Regions from separate parts of the Homo sapiens genome. Here all the other regions are linked to region 1. The links are contacts of gene promoters, found by promoter capture Hi-C in human tissues and cell types (Jung and others, 2019). All regions are on one chromosome and are shown on one strand. The core of a region is centred on a gene start or on the middle of the fragment in contact, and the rest is flanking DNA. Distances in the headings are between cores, read along the strand shown.

Region 1 (6,077 bases), core at 2,521-5,020:
AGGTAGCCAATGTTGTAAGAGGGGAGATCAGGTATGGCCTTGAAAACAACAGTGAGGAACTTGACAGGAGGTATGATCAGAGGCCACTTGAATACTGAGCAAGTAAATGATATGTCATAGTTATGCTTTGAGGGATTATATAAGAAGCTGGCCTAAGTGGTTGCTTGTCTGTATAGGTTTCATACTTCTTTAATTGTTTTTTAACTATTTGCATGCTTTCCTGTGTCAAATGCTGCTTTGAAGTTCAGTAGAATTAGTGTGGTAATAAAACAAAGGAAGTTTCTGGGAAGTATTGGAAAATAAAACTCTAACTGGAGTCAAGAGAAAATTGGAGCAGATGTTTGTGGAGACAACAAGTATAGACAACTCTTTCAAGTTTGCTATAAAATAAAGCAAAAAAAAAAATGGAATTGAAGTTGGAAGAGCATGAGAGGTCAAGACAGAAGATGTTCCCTGGGTGAAAATACAGAGAAAAGGAAAAAATGATGATCTAAGAAAGGGAGAGGGTATTTGAAAAACAGTAAATCTATGAGAGAAGTGAAAAGAGAGGCTTTAGTCTACATAGGTGAAAAAGTTGGCGTTAGTGGCAGGGACAGTATATTTCTTTTCAATATGAAGGAAGGAAAAAGACATGGGTACAGATGTAGGAAGGGTGGTAGATTTGGTGATGGGAAAATACAGATTTGTTTAGTGGCTTATATTTTCTCAGTGATATTAGAAGCGAGAAAAGTGAGTATGGGGAAGGAGATCTGGACACTTGATAAGGGAGAATCTATAAAATGATTGCTGCCAAATGGCAACTTTGTCTTTCTATGTGTCTTTATTTTGCAAATCATTCTTTTTTTCTTTTTTTTTTCTTTTTTGAGACAGAATCTGACTCTGTCACCCAGGTTGGAGTGCAGGGATGTGATGGTGGTTCACTGCAACCTCTGCCTTCTGGGCTCAAGTTATCCTCCACCTTAGCCTCCTGAGTGGCTGGGACTACAGGTCACCACACCTGGCTAGTTTTTTCATTTTTTATTTAATTTTTAAATTTTCTGTAGAGATTGAGTTTTGCTGTGTTGCCCAGGTTGATCTCAAACTCCTGAGCTCAAGCAGTCTGCCCCCCTCAGCCTCCCAAAGTGATGGGATTACAGGCATGAGCCACTGTGCCGGGCTCTAAATCATACTTGACTACGTTATATTGATACTTGACTACATTATATTGTAAACTTTTAGAGGGCAGAAGTTATGCTCACCTTATTTATTCTGTATGTTTAAAAAAAGGGCGCGGTGGCTCACGCCTGTAATCCCAGCACTTTGGGAGGCCGAGGCGGGTGGATCACGCGAGGTCAGGAGATCGAGACCACGGTGAAACCCCGTCTCTACTAAAAATACGAAAAGTTAGCCCGGCGTAGTGGCGGGCGCCTGTAGTCCCAGCTACTCGGGAGGTTGAGGCAGGAGAATGGCGTGAACCCGGGAGGCGGAGCTTGCAGTGAGCCTCGCGAGATTGCGCCATTGCACTCCAGCCTGGGCGACAGAGAGAGACTCCGTCTCAAAAAAAAAAAAAAAAAAGCATTACCTACTGAAGATGTAAAGAGCTGTTACTATGATGCTGGACAGTGGGATATTAAGTTTTGCCTAACAGAAGTCTTAGGGGAGGGTACAAAATTATGTGAACTTCCCAGTTGATTATGAAACAACTTTGCTACATTTTTGGCATAAAGAGATAGAAGTAACAGTAATATATAGCATCCACAAAAAAACTCAACAAGCATCTACTTATCAGGTTTTATCTTTTAATCCCCTATGGACTCTGTGATGCTACAGTTATTACTTATATATTTAAATCACAGACTGGACACCTGGTTTTTCCAGTCACATAATTAAGTTTACATCTCAGTATTACCATTTAGCCTACTTTCCATTTTTTATCTGAAAATTAATCTTATTAAGATTAAAAACTCAAATATACCTATTTCGTTTTTTATAACTTAATTCAACTTTTTTTCTGACCGATTAAAGGGAATGCCTACCAATGTCAGTTTTCCGATTATTCTCCCTGGACTTGGAAGTGGCTAGGCTATATTACTAACAGTATTATACAACCTAATTAGAGAACAATAAAGTTGACCTTTGAAAATAACATATCAAACATCAGAAAGTGTCTTTTCTTCATCTGCTTTAAGGATTACATTTGTTTCTTTTGTGTAAATAATACATTATTACAATTTGAGATTATTTACTTAATCTTTAATACAATGAGAGCTAAAAATAAATCAATAAACATTTGAAAATATTTTCTACAATTCTATTTCATCTCATTTACTAGTAACATTTAAGTTCAGCCTCACTTTTGAACACTCATTTCCTAAACCTCAATTGTCTGTAATAATTTTATGTTTTCTTGTGCAGTAGTTTTCCTTCCGCTGGGTCATCTATTAACACTTCTCCAACAAACCAGAGTCTTCTTATGAAGGACTGTTGTGAATACTGGCATTCGTAAATTTCTAAAAATAAAATTTCCCAGGTGCACAGTTTTCCTCCCTGTCAGCATAATCTTGGGCTAAAGTTGTTGTTTAACAAGGCAATGGGCATTTATGACATTTCTACCCATTACAGCATTTAACAAATGTTATTGTAATTGCTAATTCACCTGTCTGTATTCCACTTTAGACAATAAACTCTGTGAGATTAGAGACCGTGTCCATCTAGTTCATCTTTGTATCCTCAATCTAATATATAATAAAAGGTCAATAAAATATATGCTGAATCAATGAAAGTCCCAGCAATGTGGGGAATGGTAATGAAGAACTCCAGAGCAATGCACTTACCTGTGAGATCCAGGGTTCTGTCCACAAAAACCACTGATGCCCTGCCTGCAGCAGTCTTCTTCCTGTTCTTTGCAGGGGCATAATTGGCCAGATCCGCAGCGATGACCTGACTTAAGGAACCTACAGCAAAACACTCCTCCCGTACTCCTAAATGTTCACACAGAGAACTGAGGCCTGACACTAGGCATCTGATCTGCAGCAGCAGCTCTGGGGTTAGCGTAGTGGAGTCCACATCACCCAGGCTTCCCAGCTTCCTCTTGTCCGGTCGGGCGCTATTAAGGAGGTGCACATCCTGGGGTAGCAGTGGGAAAAGGGATGCAAAAGCTGGAGTCAAGGCAAAGTGGGGAGCAACAGGGGCAAGCAATAACGGGACATGGAACACCTCGGCCGTGTAGTTCATGTTGCCCATCCATTCACACAGCTTCTCCTCCAGCTGCTCGAACACCGGCTGCTGCCCCTCCATCTCGGCCGCTGCCGCCGCTGGGACATGATTAGCTGTGAGGTGGACAGCGTGGCTCACGGTTGTGACCACCACACAATACTGGAAGTGACTGCGGCAGATGATGTCCCGTAGGATCTCCACGGTCCGGCCTTTCAGCAGGCAGCTCAGCACAAACACTGCCTTGGGCTGCTTGGCTCCACCACCAATTGCGTCGGGCTCGAACTCTCGCAGGTGACAGTCAGGACCCCCCACCGCCTCCAGGAGACGGGTGGATCCGCAGCCCCAGTGCAGGCTCTCGGCGCAGGCGGCGTCCAGGTAAACCACAGCCCGTTTCACTTTGGCCAGCACCTGCTCCCATCCTTGCTGGGTAAAGGACAGTACGCCCGAGGCGCTCATGGTTGGGGATTCGCAGACTTGGGAAACTACGGTGCAGGAACTTCTTTCAGAACTCACCGCTTCCGGAAATTGGGCTCCGGGAGACTTTGACAGTCTCCACAGTACACGTGGTCGGCCTCTGACACGCTCCCTGATGGCGCTCGGTGATGACGTTAAACTGAGCGGTGATTGGCTAGAGAGGAGGCCGGGAGTGAGGAAGGATGGCGCGGTCGGGAAAGAAGTGGGTGGGGCTCTGTGGCTCCGGGCTTCCTCAAAAGCTCGTGGAGATCAGGTGTTTCCTGAGATGGAGCTGAACTGAGTTCTTTCCGTCGCTCGGCCTGTCTGCGCAGATAATCTTCTCAGATAATCTTCTCATGTTCCTTGAAAAGTCTCCGAAATAAAAACCTAATCCGAAATTTGGTATCTTCCTTAGATATGAACACGTCTCCAAAAGTACAGCCACCTTCTCAATCTAAACTCAGAGCAACTAGAAAAAGATAATAAAAACAACCGTGTGCAATATTTTGGGTTTATAGATTGCTGTCACATACGTTATCGCCCACAAGCCTCATAACAAACCCTGTTGTTCTCATTTTCACTTTCTCCATCTTTCCTCCCTCATCTCATCGTCACTACATCTTATAGGCTTAAAAACTCTCAGAATTCAGCCCTTCCTCTCCATTTTTGCTGTCACAAAAACCCAACATCATCGCTCACCCAGGCAATGATCTCCCAACATTTTCTGACTTTTGATCTCTTTACCCTCCAATTCTATTTTCTTCCTAATAAACAAAGTTGGTCCTACAACTTTCCTGCTTAAAAGCTTCTCCTAGCCCAGTTGCCTATAGGATACATCCACACTCTTTAAAAAGCATCAACATCCTTCTTGATTTCTCAATTTCTCTCCAGCTATTCCCAACATGGAGAAAAATTGTACCGATACAATGAAGTCAATAGGCTGAACCCAAAATGTTTTATGGGTTCTGTTTGTTCCACCAATATACTTACATTACTAAGTATAATCTCTGTGCTAAGCTTCAAAGATGCAATGGTTAATAAAATTCATTACCTAATCCACAAAGAATTTACCTGGTAAACTTACCGAAAATAATCATTCCAACAGTACTGCCTGTGAGAGACTTTTTCTAACTCACCACCACTATCACCCTATCACCTCTCACTTCCCCCACCTATCAAACCACTCAATTGATACATTCGCTAAGTACTTGCCATATCATGGGGTAAGTATTAACACTATTTTCTTTAAACTATCTGTTTTGCTAAATTATGCACTAGATGCTTGGTATCCCCAACACTTATAACAGGTGTTCAATAAATGTTCGTTGAATGAATGTTCAATTAATATCCATGGCCAGGCGCGGTGGCTCATGCCTGTAATCCCAACACTTTGGGAGGCCGAGGTGGGCAGATCACCTGAGGTCAGGGGCTCAAGACCAGCTTGGCCAACATGGTGAAGCTCCGTCTCTACTAAAAGTACAAAAAATAGCTGGACATGGTGGCAGGTACCTGTAATCCCAGCTACTCGGGAGGTTGAGGCAGGAGAATCACTTGAACCCAGGAGGGAGAGGTTGCAGTGAGCCAAGATGGCACCACTGCACTCCAGCCTGGGCGACAGAGCGAGACTCTGTCTCAAAAAAAAAAAAAATTCCACATAATAATATATCCAGCCAATTTTTAATAAATACGTACAGTATTCCAAACACTGTCTGGGTTTTAAGGATATAAAGAAAACTAAACCACAGCCCTGATTTCAAAATAATTATGATGAAATAAAGGGACCCACACATGTAAAACAAGTGCAATAAAATGTTACAGAAGCAAATACTTTTTAAAATTTTTTGTATAGGAGTCAAGAAGGAGGAAAAATAAATTCTAAGAGAAAAAGGAAGAAGTCAGAAAAAGCTTCATATAGGGCATGAGTTTTGACTTGCCTTCAAAGAAACCCAGGTGTTCACCAGGTGGACAGGATGGGGAGGAGGATTCTTAGCAGTCCAGGCACAGAGTGCAGCATAAACAAAGTCGTAGAGGCATAAAACAGTACAATATGTTCTCTGGAACTACAAAGGGTTTCCTATAGCTGGAGTGCATTGTATGAAAAAAGGCGCAAGAAGAAATAAGAGCAAGGAATTAGAAAAGAAAGAAATGGGCTAGATCAGCAAGAGCCTTATTTTCCATTCTAAGTAGTAGCAGCCAGTGGGGAAGTATTAATGTATTTTGGGGTATGGAAATAATTTGTTCACATCTGGATTTTAGAAAAAAAATGGTTCTAGTCAAAACATGGAAAATAATTTGAAATGGAGCAATTTAGCGCAGAGGGAGCAGTTAAGAAAATAATAGTATCAGCAGCAAATCTGGGTGAGAGAGTTGAAAAGCGTAACAAGCAGATGGACAGAGTGGGGAGTATGAATAGACGTTAAGAATATAGT
Region 2 (6,077 bases), core at 1,341-3,840, 240 kb after region 1:
TGAGATAAAAGATTGGCACAAGACACAGGTCAGAAAGACTTTGCTGATAAAACAGGTTGCAGTAAAGAAGCCAGCTAAAACCCACCAAAACCAAGATGGCTATGTGAGTAACCTCTGGTCGTCCTCACTGCTACACTCCCATTAGCGCCATGATGGTTTATAAATGCCACGGCAACATCAGGAAGTTACCCTATATGGTCTAAAAAGGGGAGGCCTGAATAATCCACCCCTTATTTAGCATATATCAAGAAATAACCATAAAAATGGGCAACCAGCAGCCCTTGGGCCTGCTCTGTCTATGGAGTAGCCGTTCTTTTATTCCTCTACTTTCTTAATAAACTTGCTTTCACTTTACTCTGTGGACTCATCCTGAATTCTTTCTTGCACAAGATCCAAGAACCCTCTCTTGGGGTCTGGATCGGGACCCCTTTCCTGTAACAGTGCCAGTTGACTATAGAGCCCATGATTTTCCCAGGTCCCCCACAGCCTTATCTTGGCTCTTATCCATGAAGGGCCAGGCAGAGGAGGCTCATGGGAACCAAGACTGAAGCACACTTTCAGATTCTATGTATGTCACCCGAGAAAACCTATACCTCTTATAGCTTTAGAATTTGCACAAATGTAGAGGCAGCTGCTCTGAGTGGGTAGAAAGACTATGTATATTTCAGATATGGTCTCAGTTTCGTGCCCACAGTCAGGGCTGGCTGGCATTGCACCTTGGGAAGAACTTGAAAAAGATCTGTGCTCAGCAGGTGACAGTAACATCTGTAGCTGTTTAGATGAATTTAAAATTCCTTTAAGGTAGAGTTGGCAGCTCAGTAACCTTTTTAAAAAGGCCCCTCTCCCCAATACCATATGCTTTTTAAGTGTTGTATTATTTAAATCCCTGTTAATTCTATTTTTATATAGTCAGTGCTCAGTGGATAGGAGCAAATTACTATTTTCCTCACATCAATCCTCCACGCACTTGCTGTTTTTTATGCTGTCCAATAGAGTACTCTGTCCTCTAAGAGCCCAAATTCTTCAAACTTTTTCCCAAAGGGGTTGAAAATTCATAATAACTAGTAACATAAAGTGACTCGAGGACACATGCACACAAAAAAAAGTCCTAGTAGGGAATGGAGTGGGAAAGGCAAAAGCCAGAGGAGAATTGTTTTGCTGGCCTACTCAGGTACGAGAAGCACAGGAGAAGCCAACTTTCTAGGTGGGAAAGTGTTTTCCTTCCCAGGAACTTTTGCTTCCAAGAAAGGGCAGGCCCTCAAAAACACAGATTATGGCCAAGGAGCTCATCCCTTTATTTATCTTAAATTAAAGAATACAAGAAAGAGAATATCATGAAAACCACTCACTATTACCAGAGAGAAGGACTCTCAGTCAGATTCCGACTAACAGGGTCTCAATATAATAATAGGGGAAGTTCATTTGACTTTTCTCAAATCACGAGCATGTGAAGACACCCCTTTTTAACTTGGACATGAACCTGGATGGACGGCCTCTGTTTTTTTATTTTTATTTTTATTTTTATTTTTTCAATTTTTGAGACAGAGTCTCGCTCTGTTGCCAAGGCTGGAGTGCAGTGGTGCAATCTTGGCTCACTGCAACCTCCAGCTCCTGGGTTCAAGCGATTTTCCTGCCTCAGCCTCCTGAGTAGCTGGGATTACAGGTGCCCACCACCACACCTGGCTAATGAAACCCCATCTCTACTAAAAATACAAAATTTAGCCAGGCGTGGCAGTGGGCGCCTGTAATCCCAGCTACTCAGGAGGCTGAAGCAGGAGAATCACTTGAACCCGGGAGGCCGAGGTTGCAGTGAGCCAAGATGGCACCACTGCACTCCAGCCTGGGGGACAGAGGAAGATTCTGCAAGAAAGAAAGAAAGAAAGGGAGGGAGGGAGGGGGGGAGGGAAGGAAAATATCTGAGAAGAGGCTTGCATTTTGTATTTAAATATATTCCACTCAGTTTTATGAATATGGAGGTTTAGGAGTTAGGAGAAGTGTTATTAACTAGACCGGGGATCCCTAAGTTCCTTGTTTGTGATGTCTTAATTTGAGTCTTTGTCCATATCAGTGCCAGCCATCAGCCCAGGGTGGCCAGACTGGTCCTTCCAGTTGTGGCTGTCCCCCTGAAGTGGCATGGTCCACCCCTCTCCCACTTTCGCTGAGTCTGCCCAGGGGGTGGACAGGAAATGCAGCTTTGACAAGTTCTGCCATGGGTATGCTCGCACCCCCACATTGGGTGACTCTCACTAAGTGTCTTGCCACGATGGCCAGTCCTTCTAAGTGATTAGGCTGCACCTGGACCAACACTGTTCGCGTTCTGGCCACCTGCCCATAAACTCGCAGCAGCTGTGACAACTGCGTGAGCCTGGTAGCAAGCCCATTGTCCCCTGGGATGCTAACTCCTCAATGCCATGTGGCTGCGGGGGTTTGGCAGAAGAGACAGCAGCTGTGCTAGGTATGTCCCCTCCTCATCTGTGCCCCCTAGAGGCAGCTGCACACACCAACTCATCTGAATTCGAAGCTAGGAGATCTATGAGGCTCCAGCTCTACTTTCAACTCATCTCAAGATGGCATCTTCTCCAGGATAAAGGAATAAGGAACCACATGCCAGGGGTCACTGCAGGTCACTCTGAAGCTGCCAGTCATCTCAAAGTCAAACTCTCCAAACTGGTTACTGCTGTTTCTCCCTGCCCTGCATCCCCTCTTCTGCATACCACCCCATTCTGTAGAATCTATACCACCAACCCTCCTCACCCCTGCTCACGTGACTGACTTCTCCAGTCAGCACCATTGTCCTCCCCTGGAAATGATCCCATGAAATTTCATAAAACATCAAAAATGGCTTCTTGTCAGTTAGCCTTATGGTTCTACTGGTGTGATAGAAATAGGGACAGAGTGAGAAATAGAAACTAGGATCTGTCTGTGCAGAAACCCAAGGTAGTGAAAATGAAGTTACTCTCCGAAGTGATAAGGGGATGGATCCAAATCTGTGACCTTGACATCACCATCTATTCTAGGTCCTGCAAGCAACAGATGCCAAGACGAAATTAAATATGCAGGGACTTGATTAGGGAAAATACCTGTGTGAGCAACAGGGGATGGAGGCTGAGAAAGGCTGGGAGAGCTGTCAGACCACCATCCGATCTGACACCAGTGAAGGAGAGGAGGGAAGGTTAGGTGGAACTGTACCTGGGCCAACATCAGCTGTCAGAGTAATCCCAACTTTCAGGAACAAGCCTGTCTTAGGGTCCTGCAGCACTCAGTCACTCTGACACTGACCAGGAGCTGCACCTTGAAGGGTGGCTTGCTGCAAATGCAGGGGTGGCTTTTAGAGTGCAGCCACTTGAGTCCTTTGTCAGTGACACCTCCTATAATGGGCGGTCTGTGAGGGCACTTGAATGGCCTTTACACGTGGTGACTAAACTAATGAAGTAGCTGAGGAGATGGGGAGTGGAGTCCACAGGACCCAAGTCAAGGGAAGGCAATCAGGATATTGTTTCAAGGAATGAAAAACACGTGTTGGGTGATAGTTCACAAGGCTTCAGTCTGATCACCTGGATTGGGCTCAGTGTGAAGGAAACAGAAAGTCTGTACATCCATGACATATCATTTTACTCTATTTTAAAACAAGCCAAATATACCTGAAAGCATAGAAATTTCAAAGCCTTGAAAAAATTCTTCTGTTTTCAAGTTTGCCTTAGCACTGACAGTAGATGTGAAGCTCTGAGACCACTTTTGAAGCTAGAAAAGGCAAGGACAAAAGTACAGAGACAGTGAGTTTCATGGACATCTTATGACCTTTCTGGGCCTCAGTTCCTTCATCCCTAAAAAGATCCCTTTCAAGTCTAAAATTCTAAAATCAATGCTCAGATTGGCAAAGTTTCTAATAATCAGGGAAAGCAGTTTTCCAGGATCCAGAGCACCACAGTGTCACTGTATTAAGGCAGCAAATAAATCAGCCCTGGTTGTGCTGGCCGTGGGGCCATGGAGGACTCCAGGGTGGTTGCAGGGCTTCCTTGGGAGCCGACTCCTCACTGCATGTGAGGACCTACTCATTTTCATATTCATGGTTCCTAGCTCATGGGGAAACTCAATAACATCTTCATTAAATAAACACACAAATGGACAAAATCAATTTGGGAAGAGAAAGAGAAAAGGATTGGGGTAAAAAGTGATGTGAATTAGCAGAGCTGGGTTATAGGCAGGGTGGATATGCAGCTGGTGTCCACCATGGAGCTTGTGTTAGGCCGTTCTTGCATTGGTATAAGGAAATATCTGTGACTGCTTAATTAATAAAAGAGGTTTAATTGCTTCATGATTCTGCAGGCTGTAAAGGATGATGCCCGGCATCTGCTCAGCTTCTGATGAGGCCTCAGGAAGCTTCCAATCATGGCAGAAGGCAAAGGGGAACCCATGTATCACATAGCAAGAGCAGGAGCAAGAGAGGCGCGGGGAGAGGTTTTAAACCACGTCTTGCAAGAACTCACTATTGCGAGGACAGTACCTTGGGGATGGTGCTAAATCATTCATGAGAAATCTGCCCCCATGATCTAATCACCTCCCACCAGGCCCCAACTCCGACACTGGAGATTACATTTCAACATGAGATTTGGGTGGGGACAAATATCCAGACTATATCGGGGCTGTACCAGCAATTGACTCCTGACATCTGTTCTGACTGGTCAGAGTCTGTTCTGATAGGTTGGTGCCTCTACTGATTATTAAATATTTTATGCTATACCAATTATTAAATATTTTGAAAACCACCTACTGTTACATGGGCTATCATATTGCCTAGAATATTTGGTGATGGTTTCATAAATGGAAAGCAATTGATTTCTGATAGTCATTCCACCGCAACCTAAGGTCACCATATCTATTAATAATTCCTGTAGATGGTAGTGGGATGGAGGGTGATTTAATCAAATTGATGACAATTTGAAGTTGCCAAACTGCTGATTTTTGTTCTACCCTTCGTAGAAGACAATTTGTATTACTCTTTCCCTGCTGCCCCACTAGAAATATATTAGCACCTAAAGCTTGTATATTCATTTATCACAAGCATAATATGTTCTCCTTAAGCTGGATAGAGAATGTTTGAGTTAAAAATGAACTGAGACCAAAGAGAAGTGACCTGTTATTCAAGTCCTTATACTCACAAATGCTTGGGGCAAAGGGAATGTTTGGAGAAAAGTGATGAATTCTCTAGACTTAAAAGCCAGTTGGATAAAAAGCAGAACTGGCAGAGCCTATGCCAATGTGGGATTATGGATGCAGGAAGAAGCAAGAGGAAGTAGCCCAGGAACTTACAGAAATTATAATGAGGGCTCCGAATTCTTATGGGTTGTGGTACTGGCATTCAGGCCAGGTTTAACTAGATGTCCAAAGGCTGTGCAGGGGGATATCTGATATCTGGAATATTCTTAGGCTCAATTCGTTTGTTTCTTCATTTGTTTCTTGCAACCAAAAATGAATTATGAATATCAGTCCAAAGTCAGAGACAGACTAATTTGTTTCTCATATAATGAACTAGAAGGTATATTTCTAAGACTAAGGATTTGTGCTTGTGTTTGGATTGGAGCTGAGCCTCTTGGGTGGGGAAGACAGGTCACAGGCCACCTTTCTCAAGAAAAGAGGCTGCAGGGGCAGAAAACTGGAAACATGAAGCTGTATATGTATAGAATTCCAGGGCAAGTAAAATGTAAATGAGTGATGAAACAACATCACTCCTCACAACCCGGGTGATTTGCAAAGTCACCAGGGAATTTCAGGACACCTGGATTACAAAACCATAGCAAGACTTGGAGTCCGCATTAGCATAGTGAAGTGGAAGCTGCCAGCTCAGTTAAGGGCTATGCCTAGAACTGGCATAGCACCACTTCTCCCATGTTCTCGTGGTCAAAGGAGTTACAAGGCCCACCCAGATGAAAAGGGATGGAGAAATAGATTCTACCTCTGGATGGGGACTGGCAAAGTCACATTGAAGAGCATGTGGAATGGGAATTGTGTTGTATGGTAGCCATTTTGGAAAATACAATCTACTGCAACAGATGATTAAAATACTTAAAAAGAAATTT
Region 3 (6,077 bases), core at 2,103-4,602, 180 kb after region 1:
AGGAGTTTGAGACCAGTCTAGACAACATGGCAAAACCCTGTCTCTAAAAAAAAATACAAAAATTAGCCAGGCATGGGGGCGTGCACCTGTAGTCCCAGCCACTCGGGGGGCTTAGGAGAGAGGATGGCTTGAGCCCGAGTGGTTGAGGCTGCAGTAAGTCATGACTCCGCCACTGCACTCCAGCCTGAGTGAGAGTGAGACCCTGTCCCCGCCTCCCCAGAAAAGATAGTGAGGCTTTACTTGAGTGTGCTCCAACTCAACCTCAAGGTGCCATGCCACCTTGTAAGAAAGCTTGTTAAAAATAAGTGTTATTAGCCTGGCTGACATGGTGAAACCCCGTCTCTACTGAAAATACAAAAAATTAGCTGGGCATGGTGGTGGGTGCCTGTAATCCCAGCTACTCGGGAGGCTGAGACAGAAGAATTGCTTGAACCCAGGAGGGGGAGGTTGCAGCGAGCCGAGATTGCGCCACTGCACTCCAGCCTGGGCAACAAGCAAAGCTCTGTCTCAAAAAACAAAAAACAAAAAACAAAAAAACCCCCCTGTTATTATTATAAACAGAGCTACAGACTGTGTAGACATCGACACAGTGCTGATTTAAGTATCCTCACTTATTGGGGTCAAACATTTGTCTTTAGTAAAATAAGGGCACTGTATTTGATTCTAAAAATAAATGGCAGGAGAGCTGGGAATGGTGGCTGACGCCTGTAATCCCAGCACTTTGGGAGGCTGAGACGGGCGGATCACTTGAGGTCAGGAGCTCAAGACTAGCCTGGCCAACATGGTGAAACCCTGTCTCTTCTAAAAATACAAAAATTAGTTGGGTATGTTGGTGCTTGCCTGTAATCCCAGCTACCTGGGAGGCTGAGGCAGGAGAATCCCTTGAACCTGGGCGGCAGAGCTTGCAGTGAGCCGAGACCACGCCACTGCACTCCAGCCTGGGTGACAGAGCGAGACTCTAACTCAAAAAAAAAAGAAAAAAAAAAAAGAAAGAAAAGAAAAGAAAGAAAGAAATGGCAGGAATGCGTTCTGTGATTTCAGGATTCTCTAGTGAGTGGGTGGAGGTAACAACCAAGTTAGGATACCATTAGCAACTGAATCAACTTCAGCAAATGGCTCTCTAAAACTACACTGACTTGGCAAGATCATGTCAAAAAAAAGAGGTTGGGCTGAAAAAAATTATTTCTCTAAGGAAAAGTGTGAACAATTAGTGCCAAACTATTCACATAGTGGAAAGTTCCATGCTTTTGGAAGATGACACACTTGGTAGTTTCTAAGACTGATCTAATCAGCACATTTCATATATATTTTTTTTCTAAAAGAGACTTAGAGTTCATGATTCTTTTAGTGTAGATTCTAACCATTTATATCAAATGGAAAAAGCAGGGATCTATTCAGTTGTGTGTCAAATTCTTAGGATCACTGAATAGTTCTGACTTGAGACAAGAACAATATAAGGCCAAGAAAACGGACTGTTTCAATTAAGCTCAGCAGAAAAAAATACACATGAGCCAAAACAGAACGACTTAATACTTAGCAATCACTTAAAAATTTGTAAGCTCAGTCTGAGTCATTAAAAAAAAGTAGGCCAAGAAGCTTGAAGGAACACAGATTTACAAGTAAAAGAGGCAAACACTAAAATAAAAATGTTTAAACCCTGCAGTGCTAAACTACTTTCAGATAGCTTTGTAATAAGTGAAATTTGGAGAATTATATAAACCCCTCACAGATAAGCTTGGACAAAAAATAGGTGAAGGAATATTTGGCAAACATGAGCATGCATAAATCAGCTGCTCCAGATGACACATGGCCCTGGGGAATAGAATTTGACTAATATGCTTACTGAACAATGGTGCAGTAAAAATGAATAATTATTTCTGAAAAATTACCTTGCACTCAGGGGGATGTCAGAAGACTGGAACAAGGCCAACAACATGTGATAGTGATGCAGAGAGAAAACAGAAGGAAAGGGTAGTGAAAAATTAGTGTATGAGATATGCAATTGTCAGCTTGAAAAATTGGGAATAACTATTAGGAAAGTAAAATTGAGTTTCCAGAAAACCAGGGATAAATAAACAAAGGACAGTTTGCATTTAAATGATCACAGACAAATTCATGAGATTATCTTAAAGATTGTAATACTGTTGTTGTAATTAAGAATACAAAGGGATGGGGTAGGGGGTGGATTGAGCTGAATGCGCAGTGTCTTGGGATTTTATATTCACTGTTAGTCCAAAGAAAGCTGAAAATGATCAGAAATCACAAACTAAGGGGGCATTAAGCCCAGCCATGGGAAGGTGTTTCAAAGAGTGTCCTAACAATCACCATCACATTGATCTGAATCAATACTCTGACTGATGACCTAGGAGCAAGTGTCACAAAATTTATGGATGACACTGAGGTGGGGAATGCCATAGAGGACAGAGGCAAGAGGAGGGAAAAAATAGGTTAGACATGGGTACATCTGCAATTAGAGAAAATCCATGACAAAGACATGAACAGACTGGAGTAATTTAGAAGGCAACACAATTTCGGAATGAGAAAATTCAACATTAATTTACACTGAGTAAGAATAGGGGTCAAGGTGGAGAAGGCCATTGGCATTTGCAATTGCATTTAAATCTGTATTCGGAACACGTGACCCAGAGTGATGTTTAACCCGGTAAGAACCCCCCTCTCCCATCAGGAATAAATCAGGGGGAAAGCAAGTGGAAGTAGAGGGAACTGATGGTCATGAGCCCACCCAGGTGCCAGCTCCTCTAACGTGGTTCTCACTTGCTACTCAGGAATCCTGTGCTGTAGGAATCATTAGCACTTCATAGGTGTGGATTTGGAGTCAGATTGTCCTGTCTGCTACTTTTGTTTTTAAATAGAGATGAGGGTCTCACTATGTTGCTCAGGCTTGTCTCAAACTCCTGAGCTCAAACAATTCTCCTGCCTCAGCCTCCCGAAGTGTTATAATTACAGAAACGAGCCACCACGTCTGTCCTGTGTGCTACTGTTATCCGAAGGTCAGTTGCCCTCATGGCTGGCTCCCTTCCTCACTTCTTTCTGGGTTCTGCTGCTTTCTTGGCAAGGCCTGCTTATGTAGAACAGCATCTCCTTACCTGCTTTATTTATTTCATGCCACTTATTTCCATCTGATGTACTACATGTGTGCTTATTTACTGCCCTCTCACTGGAATATAAGTTTACTGCAGAATCCCCACAGCCTAGAACATGCCTGATATGTCATACACATTTGATAAGTATTTGTTATTAAATTATACTCTTCCCAGGAATGAATGTTTTCTTTATGCTACCTAAGTGTAAACTCTTAATTCATCTACCAGGAGGCTACCTAGCTTGGAAAAGAAGAAAAAAAAATCACACTATACAAAGAAAACGCTGAACAGAGAACTTCCAAGAAGTAGGAAATATCTTGCTCAATTTTTTTTTTCAGAACATTAATTTACTTTCACTGGACAAGGAAAATCTGTTTCTGTAAACCACTATTTTTATTAATAGAAATTCCCTGCCTTTGCTAAATGGTAAACAAATGTTAAGAATTTGAAGGAGGATCACATCACTGGGCTCCTTTGAGATCCATATGCCTCAATTCAACCCTGTCAACCATGCCAAGAAAGAAGAGAGCAGCTTATGTCCAAAGAAACTGGGAAAGAAAAAACAAATCTCCATGATGCTTTCTTTAGATGACACTAAGCAACTGAATGGGGGATTAAAAAACAAAAACAAACAAAAAAACAAAACAATAAAAACACCACCACAGTAAACAAACAGAAAAAACCAAACACACATTGACCTCATCTCTGGGTCTTTTGTAACTGAAGAAACAACACCTGAGTTACATGGAACAAACACTTTATCTTAGTCTTCTTCACCTTCACTGTCCTATTTTTGAACCCTAGACACCACACCTGCCTAGCTGTCATTGGGCTTTTAAATTCTCTGAAATAGACTATCTAGGTGTTTGAGAGCAGTACATAGAAATTAGTAAGCACCTGAGAGGTGCTGATTTCTCTCTCTCTCTCTCTTTTTTTTTTGAGACAGTCTCACTCTGTTGCCCAGGCTGGAGTGCAGTGGTGCCATCTCAGCTCACTGCAGCCTCTGCCTTCCAGGTCAGGCAATATTCGTGCCTCAGCCTCCTGAGTAGCTGGGACTACAGGCGCATGCCACCATGCCTGGCTAATTTTCTGCATTTTTAGTAAAGACAGGGTTTCACTGTGTTGGCCAGGCTAGTCTCAAACTACTGAACTCAGGTGATCCACCCCTTCGGCCTCCCAAAGTGCTGGGATTACAGATGTGAGCCACCATGTCCGGCCTGAGAGGTGCTGATTTCTTTTGTGATGTTAAAGGAATTAGTTTCCTGATGAGGTTGAGCTGCTATCTGAGTAGAACCCAAGGAGGCCAAAAGGTGGGTACTTCAGGGAAGACCCTGGAGTGGTAAGACACCAGCACTGCTGCCCAGTACCATGCGAGAATCTTTTCTAAAGAAAAAAGTGTGCAGGGGGCGAAGAAAGGAAGCTGGCTTGTACAGTAGCAGAGATGGACACGTAAGTAGCTGACACTGATCAATAATGCCCATGCGCCAGGCACTGTACTGGGGCTGCATGTGCATGATATAGTCTGTCAGTCCTCACAGTAGCTCCATGAGGTTGATGCAATGACATCATAACAGAGAAGTTAAGGCAATTGCCCAAAGACACACAGCCAGCAATTGGCAGGGCCAGGCTCTAACTCTGGAGTCCCGCTTGTGATCATAATGCACTCGACCAGCACGTCCCCAGTGACACCTCAGACCTATGTAGAGTTTGCATTGCACGAAGGTGGAGGGAGTGGTACCCAGATGCTTTTTTCTATTAAAAACTGCACCAGCATCTAAGAGGGAAGGATTATTCCAGATGAGTTTGCAATAAGATCCCTTTGATCCTTTGTAATCTTTCATCAATTAGCTCATGCAGCCAAAAATATTTCTGACTAATCACTTTAAAGAATGACTTTGAGAACTCCTGTAGTCTGCTCTCTTATGCCTACTTCAATGGGAAAATAGTTATACAAACTAGGAACTGCCATCTTCAGCATAATTTTAACTGGCCAGAGAAACTACCCAATCATTACCCAGAAAAGTTGAATCTATAAAGCAATTACTTTTCTGTTTCAGAATCCATCTCAGCCCCCCAACCTGGCCCTACTGAATTATAAAGGTGTGAAACAACCTAACACATCCAAGCAAATCCATCTCCATGACAACACAGTAGCGATGCAGTCCTGGAATCAGGATGCCTGCATTCCAGGCTGGCTGGATTACCTAGGGAAGTTTCCTCAGCCTCAATAAATCAGAGTTTTCTCATCAGTGAGATGGGGAGCCATTGCATTTGCTGCAAGGTTCCTAGGAGATCATTTATTTCTCATCACCATTAATTTCTCATCTCTGATGTTTATAGTGCACTTAAAATGTTCCAGGCATCTAATGCTTCCTGTGTATTGCATTTAATTCTTACCCCCATGAGGTAGGTGCCATCATTAAAACCTGATTTAAGGATGAGAGGCTTGAAGCTTAGCTGAAGTTACACAGCTAGTCAGTGATGAGCCAGGATTTGTACTCAGATTTGAATGACTTCAGAGGCCACATTTTTTTTTTTTTTTTTTTTTTTGAGACAGGGTCTTACTCTGTCGCCCAGGCTGGAGTACAATGGTGCTATCTCAGCTCACTACAACCTCTGCCTCGCAGGTTCAAGCAATTCTCCCGCCTCAACCTCCTGAGTAGCTGGTAGTACAGTGCACCTCACCATGCCCAGATAATTTTTGTATTTTTAGTAAAGACAGGGTTTCACCATGTTGGCCAGGCTGGTCTCAAACTCCTGACCTCAAGTGATCCACCCACCTCAGCCTCCCAAAGTACTGAGATTACAGGCATGAGCCACTGCACTGGGCCAGAGGCCACATTTTTAATCAATACAAGCTAAAGCTTGTTAATGTTTCATGACTGAACTCTGCCCTGCCTCTCTGCTGCCATCCTTTGTATATGAAACTCTTAGAATTAGATAAAAATCCCTGGAAGAGCATATTCAGACATA
Region 4 (6,077 bases), core at 2,271-4,770, 130 kb after region 1:
GATTTCATTTATATAACATTCTTGAAATTCAAAATTATAGAAATAGAAAACAGATTAGTTATTTCCAAGGGTTAAGGAGGACGTGGGGCGGGGAGGGAAATGGATGTGGCAATAGAAGGCAACTTTTATAGGGATCTTTGTGGTGATGGAAATCTTCTGTTATGACTGTTAATGTCAATAGCATGCTTGTGATGCCATACTATGGTTTTGCAAGATGTTAACACTAGGAAAAACAGTAACGAGACATGGGATCTCTCTGTATTATTTCTTACAATTACATATTAATTGATAATTATCTCAAAATACGAAGGTGAGTTACAATTGCATACTAATTGATAATTATCTTAAAATAAAAAAGCTAAAGAAAAAAAAATTTCAACAGTGACCCTGACGAAGTCAACAAAATACATACAGGTGCTTGATGACATTATACTGGTCAGAAAAGTGGATTAGTTTGAACAGTCATGAACTCTACTTGCCTGAGTGATCAAGAATTTGCGTCCCTCTCTTCTTAGGGGGCTTCCTCTCAGGTTCATACTTGGGTTTCCAAGTGCTTTCGAAGTCACCTGGACTTAGCCATGGAGACTAAGACTTACTCTGTCCATAGGATCCCTGGAGAATGCATGGCATAGCTTTTTTTTTTTTTAAGATGGGTCTTGCTCTATTGCTCAGGCTAGAGTGCAGTGGCACGATCTCAGCTCACTGCAACCTCCGCCTCCCAGTTTCAAGTGATTCTCCTGCCTCAGCCTCTTGAGTAGCTAGGATTACAGGCACCTGCCACCACACCTGGCTAATTTTTTGTATTTTTAGTAGAGATGGGGTTTCACCCTGTTGGCCAGGCTGGCCTTGAACTCCTGACCTCATGTGATACACCTGCCTCGGCCTCCCAAAGTGCTGGGATTACAGGCATGGGCCACCACGCCCAGCCGAGTAATGTTCTTACCTGGGCAGAAGCTTTGAAAATGTTGGTCTTTCCATCCTGACTCCTTGAAAGGGAGGCACTGCATGACACATGTGGTAGTGACAGGGTGCCTGGTTCAGGGGGATGTGCATTCTTGCTCATGTCCGGGGTTTCTGACTGGGATCCTGGAATGACCTCTGACTCACCTGAATCAGATGAGCCGCACTTTCTGGGCTGCCATATCGAAGATCATGTCCATTGATGGCTAACACACGGTCATTCTCCTCAAGCTGACCATGTCGATATGCCACACCGCCATCCAGCACATTGAAGATGAAAACCCCAGGCTCATCCACCTTGCGCACCAGTTTTATTCCAAGCTGCTCCTCGGGGCTACTTTTGTTGAGAATCACATGAAAGCTGTCATCTCGGGGTCTGTAGGCATCCGGGGCCTGTCCATTGTTCCTGCTGCGGAACTTCTGTTCACGCATCACAGTCAGCCACAGCACCTGGCAGGGCTGCCGCAGGAGACGCACAGCGTAGTTGTGAGGGACATTGCTGATGTCCATCCCGTTGACCTGGGGGCAGGTGGAACAATCGTGCGGTCAGCTCCACCTGCCACAACCCTTCCTGAAAGATCCAGGCCCACAGAAAAGCCAGGATCCTGTCTTTAAAGACTGCTCTGCTCTCCCACCTCATCCTGTGTCCAATAACCGCACCTTCCAACAGCGTTTCTAACCCTGTTCTCTCCAAGCGTGGCCTGCAGCACCTCTCCAGGCCTCTGTGAGTAGACACCATCTTTCTCCACCTTGTTCTTACCCAAGCCCACATATTTATTCCCAGAATCCTAGCCTTCATTTCTGTTGTCATTATTTTTTAGCTGGCAGGAAGAGAGGGAAGGAAGATAAGGTAGGAAAAGGCAAAAGAAAAGCATTTTTCCCATTTGCCTCAGTCAAATGATTGCATTAAACAGCTCTTCAAGCCGAGTTGACATTTTCTTCCCAAAAATCTCCAATTGAATTTTTCTCCCTGGGTCAACTCATACCAGAACTTCCAGTCCTCACCACTGTGTGTGTATGTAGATGTGATAGTGTGTGAGTGAGGGTCTGAGTGTGTGAGCACGATGGAGTGTATGTGCGTGTGATACTGTGTGTGTGCGGATGGGAATGTGTCAGGTCTCAGGGTGGTCCCCTGCAAGGTTTTTTTGCCCATGTTCTCAGCAAAAGGAAGAAATCCTTGCACAGTTTCAGACAAACTGATATGAAAGGAAGTTTCCAGGCTCTTTTATTGAAAGGCTAGATCTCTTTATAAAGCTACTTAAACAAGCTTAAGCTCGGCCCTCTCATTTGTGCCTCACTAATGATGTGTAGGGCTGATACTGCATGGGGCTTTCTGGTTTTAATTTCTCTGGCTACACAGGCCCAGCCAGAGCCCCCTATGTTGGAAGAAAACAATTTCGCAGCAATTGCTGCACTCTGTGTTTGAGGAAAGAGGCCCCATGGAGGAGAAATAACTTTCTTGAATTTCTGTAGTTTGATAAGATTTCTTGTATTTGCAGCCAATTGTTAGAGAAGGCTTGGAATGGGCTTTACAAAGGCCTTTCTTGAGGATATAATCACCTGTTCTCTGGTGCAGCTCCAGAGGCTCCCTCATGCAAAGGCAAAGCTCACCACCTTTGTCCAAGCACAGGTGAGGAGAGCACCTGAGGTGGCAGGGCCGGGTTCCCCCATCACCTCTGGGCCCAGAGAAGGTCAGGGGAGTCAGGGTTGCCTGCTAAATAGTCCTGGCAGCCCTTTTGTTTGTAAGCTCCAGTTGAAGGCCACAAGAATCAAAATGTTTTGTTATGCAACCCTGCCAGGCAGCATAGTTTCCACTAGAACTGGGAGGCAGCAGTGCACAGTGTAGCTGATTGTACTGCGGCCTGCCCCGAGGGCCCTGTCTTATGCTCCACCTCGGAGGCCAGCAGGAATTTCAGTATTTCTGTGAAAACTGCTTTAGGTTATTTCTCCTCTTATTCCAATCAGTTTGCCAAAGAAACAGCTCATAATGTGACAGGAGCCGGTCCCTCAGCAACCTAGAAGGGATGGGATAGAACTGTTATCTGAGTGTCAGATAGAAAATATACGAGCAGGGAGGGGTTTCTTGGCACTTTTGGCAAACATTGGACTTCTGCCTGGTAAACAGATCTTTTTATCCTTTCTGTTCTGAAAATTCCTCCTTCTCCTTAACCAAGCCTCTGAGGACAGTAACACCCAAAGCATTCTATTCCAACACCTGTCTCCCCTGGTATGTCTCTGGGTTGGTGGAATTAGCATAGAGATTACTTTTATTTTCAGGGAGGGCCGTAAGACTATAGGAAATTGACTTTCAAAAAGTAGATGATTGTGATTAAATAAAATACAAAATGTTCTATTAATCTACTCTAAAAACAATTTAAGAAAATATATGTCCCAGTTTTATTTTATATTAATGCTCTTTAAAAAAAGAGATAAAAGGAGAAAGAGGAGGTGGAGAAAGGGAATGAAGAGGAAGATTGAAAAAGCTAGAAGGGAGAAGGCAGAAGAGTGGACAGACAAAATGATATAGAGACAGATAAATATTTATATACAGAGAGAAAGGGGGGAGAGAGTGAAAGAGCAAGACAGAGAGAAACAAAGATCTCAATTAAATGACAAATCTCAGAGAGTCATAAAATGATAGAAAGTCACTATCCACATTTATTTTACCATTTCCCTCATTCATCCATCCATCTATCCAATTGTTTGCTCAGAAGCATTTTTTTATATCAAGCCCCTTGCTGCAGCCCCACAGCCACAGTCTCTACCTTTAGAATGATGTCTCCTGGCAGTAGCCGGCCGTCTCTGGCGATCACCCCATCACGATAAATGTGTTGGATAATGATATGGACCAGTGGGGTTTCGCTACCTCCCACCAGCCTAATAGAGAGGCTTTCACTGGGATCTACTCGATTGATCTTGATGCTGGTAATTTCACCATCTGGAATCAGGTGGTACAACCTTGGAAAGACTGAAATGGACAAAGAGTGTTTATTTAAGACACCCACCCAATGGACCTTTCCAACTACTCTTCTTGCCAAACTTCAGTGTCAGCCAAACTAAACTATTCATTTTTCCTCATACATGTTTTCCATTTTCCTGCCTCTGTGTCAATGTAAGTTTCTCTGCTTGGAATGTTTTTCATCCTGAGCTTAAACCCAATTTTTCCTTCAAGGCCCTTCCAATTAAACTCTACCCTGATTCCTCCTTCCCTTGCTCTAAACAGCCCACTTCCTATAAAGCTTTCTAGCTATTTCTCATGGCACTCAACCCATTATTGTTATTTTTACCTTTTTGTTTTTGTTTCTGTTTTTTGAGACAGGGTCTTACTCTGTTGCCCAGGCTGGAATGCAGTGTCTCACTACAACCTCCGCCTCCTGAGCTCAAGTGATCTTCCCACCTCAGCCTCCCAAGTAGCTAAGACTACAGGCACATGCCACCATTCCTGGCAAATTTTTACATTTTTTGTGGAGACGGAGTTTTGTCATGTTGTCCAGGCTGGTCTTGAAATCCTGAGCCCAGGTGATCCACCCACCTCGGCCTCCCAAAGTGCTGGGATTACAGGTGTGAGTCACCTCTCCCAGCTTATACTCATTTCTTATATACCTCATATCATGCCCATAAAACCTGAGGGCATAAACTCTCGCTGTTCCATGGTTCTCTGCATATATCTCTGCATGCAGAGGCCTTCAGCTGAAGTTTACTGAATTAATAGAAGTGAATGAATCATTTTTAATGGAATGAATTGCAGTTTTATCGCTTGCTTATTGAGAGGTAAAAAACAGAACCAATTTGCCACTTTGCCCTCTCAGATAATTTTGAAAATTTCTTCCTTAAAGACTCTGCTTTTCAGGCTTGGGGGAACATCAGTTCTTTCTACCAGACATTGTTGTTAACAAATGGAAGAGGCCTGATTCATGATCAAGAAGAGGCCAAGGCCTAGTTGGTGGCCTTGAGCAGTTCATCCCTGGTTTGCCTGAAATCACTGAGTTCAGAGCAAGGAGATTCAAAGATCATCTAGGCTGGTGTTTTCAAACTGTATTTTTAAACTGATGAATCTGCTTTCCCCAAGAAATCTCTCCTAGCTCTCTTCTCATCTTTCATCCCATTGTGACCACACAGAAAACAGCTGCTCTAATTGTCCTGCTGCTTGACAGTGATAGTCAAACACTACAAGTGAGGAGGTTTAAGGCTGAGAGAAGGGGAGTGAAGTAACTGACTGGACATCCCAAAGTTAGGTGGTCCTGAGAGCCAGGTCAGAACCCAGAGTTCTTGTGACCGGTACTCTCTGTCAGGTATCCCTGGAGCCAGGGGTTCACAGCCAGGCCAGAGCCCATGAGGGACTTGCTCTATGGACCTATGAGCCAGCAGCACCGACTGGCATTGTTTTTTTTTTCACTTCAGTTTGAATAGAAGTGTTCAGAGGGGACACCAACAAGTGATGGGAACAAGCCACACCTAGCTTGGTGGAAAAAGGGGCTCCTCCAAGCAGCTAGAGGCTCAAGTTTGAATGTAAAGGGCTGAGATGCTTCTGTCTTCCGTAGGTGCTGACAGCTGCCTCACCTTAAGAGTCTCCTTTCGTTATGGCATCTGGAAAGATCTCACATGGCAGGCCTGCTTCTAGTTCCTTGTGAGCATTTTCAAAACCCGTGACCTTAGTCCATTTTCCCTAATGAATTAATAAGTACTCAACTCTCTAAGAACAATAAAGAATTAAAATTATTTCTAAGTATGTTAGGGCAAAGTAACTTAGTGGGCAGAGGAAACCCGAGATGTTGTAAATGTGGGTCCTTAATCTCTATACTGATTGAACTGAAGTGACTGCATAAGGCAGGGGTAAGCTGGCTTCAGCAGTCAGCTCCTGGTACTAACAGTACTCGGGTGATTGAGTTCAATTAATGTTTAAACTACTTTGGTTATATTAAGTAGGCTATACCACAGGCAATTGCTAGAACATGTCTGGTATAACAAGGGAATGGAAAAAAATTCATTCTGAGCAAAGAAAGATTTGGAAATAATCACAAAAGCCAATTTTCCCTCCCTCATTCCCCTTCCCTTGTTACCATCTTTTCCAACAGATTTACAAAAACCACACTGCCAAACCTAAACCGCTAGAGAAT

What was found. Contacts are between HindIII fragments. The study calls those that stand out against the background at their distance.
Region 2: a contact is called between a fragment that was not itself captured here and the fragment with the promoter of SCFD2 in region 1, in 1 of the 25 tissues and cell types used here (IMR-90 fibroblasts).
Region 3: a fragment that was not itself captured here is called in contact with the fragment with the promoter of SCFD2 in region 1 in 2 of the 25 tissues and cell types used here (aorta and mesenchymal stem cells).
Region 4: a contact is called between a fragment that was not itself captured here and the fragment with the promoter of SCFD2 in region 1, in 2 of the 25 tissues and cell types used here (IMR-90 fibroblasts and hippocampus).

Annotation. Positions count from the first base shown.
Region 1 is chr4:53,362,291-53,368,367 of GRCh38, forward strand. It overlaps SCFD2 (sec1 family domain containing 2), which reads right to left and starts at 3,771. Exons shown (of 9, transcript NM_152540.4): 1 at 2,814-3,771. The coding sequence starts at 3,651. RefSeq lists enhancers at 3,197-3,246, 3,467-3,666, 3,687-3,736. The HindIII fragment of the contact is 11,346 bases long and covers 1-5,109 here.
Region 2 is chr4:53,599,211-53,605,287 of GRCh38, forward strand. It overlaps LNX1-AS2 (LNX1 antisense RNA 2), which reads left to right. Exons shown (of 2, transcript NR_046827.1): 2 at 4,327-6,077. It also overlaps a transcript of LNX1 not described here. Among named protein-coding and RNA genes, the nearest start is that of LNX1-AS2, 9.3 kb to the left of the region's middle. RefSeq lists an enhancer at 2,308-2,807. The HindIII fragment of the contact is 4,237 bases long and covers 473-4,709 here.
Region 3 is chr4:53,540,172-53,546,248 of GRCh38, forward strand. The region is part of intron 2 of LNX1 (ligand of numb-protein X 1); the gene reads right to left. Among named protein-coding and RNA genes, the nearest start is that of LNX1-AS1, 43 kb to the left of the region's middle. The HindIII fragment of the contact is 4,819 bases long and covers 944-5,762 here.
Region 4 is chr4:53,494,916-53,500,992 of GRCh38, forward strand. It overlaps LNX1 (ligand of numb-protein X 1), which reads right to left. Exons shown (of 11, transcript NM_001126328.3): 5 at 3,726-3,928; 6 at 1,108-1,479. It overlaps LNX1-AS1 (LNX1 antisense RNA 1), which reads left to right and starts at 5,162. Exons shown (of 4, transcript NR_046622.1): 1 at 5,162-5,212; 2 at 5,502-5,587. The HindIII fragment of the contact is 3,860 bases long and covers 1,591-5,450 here.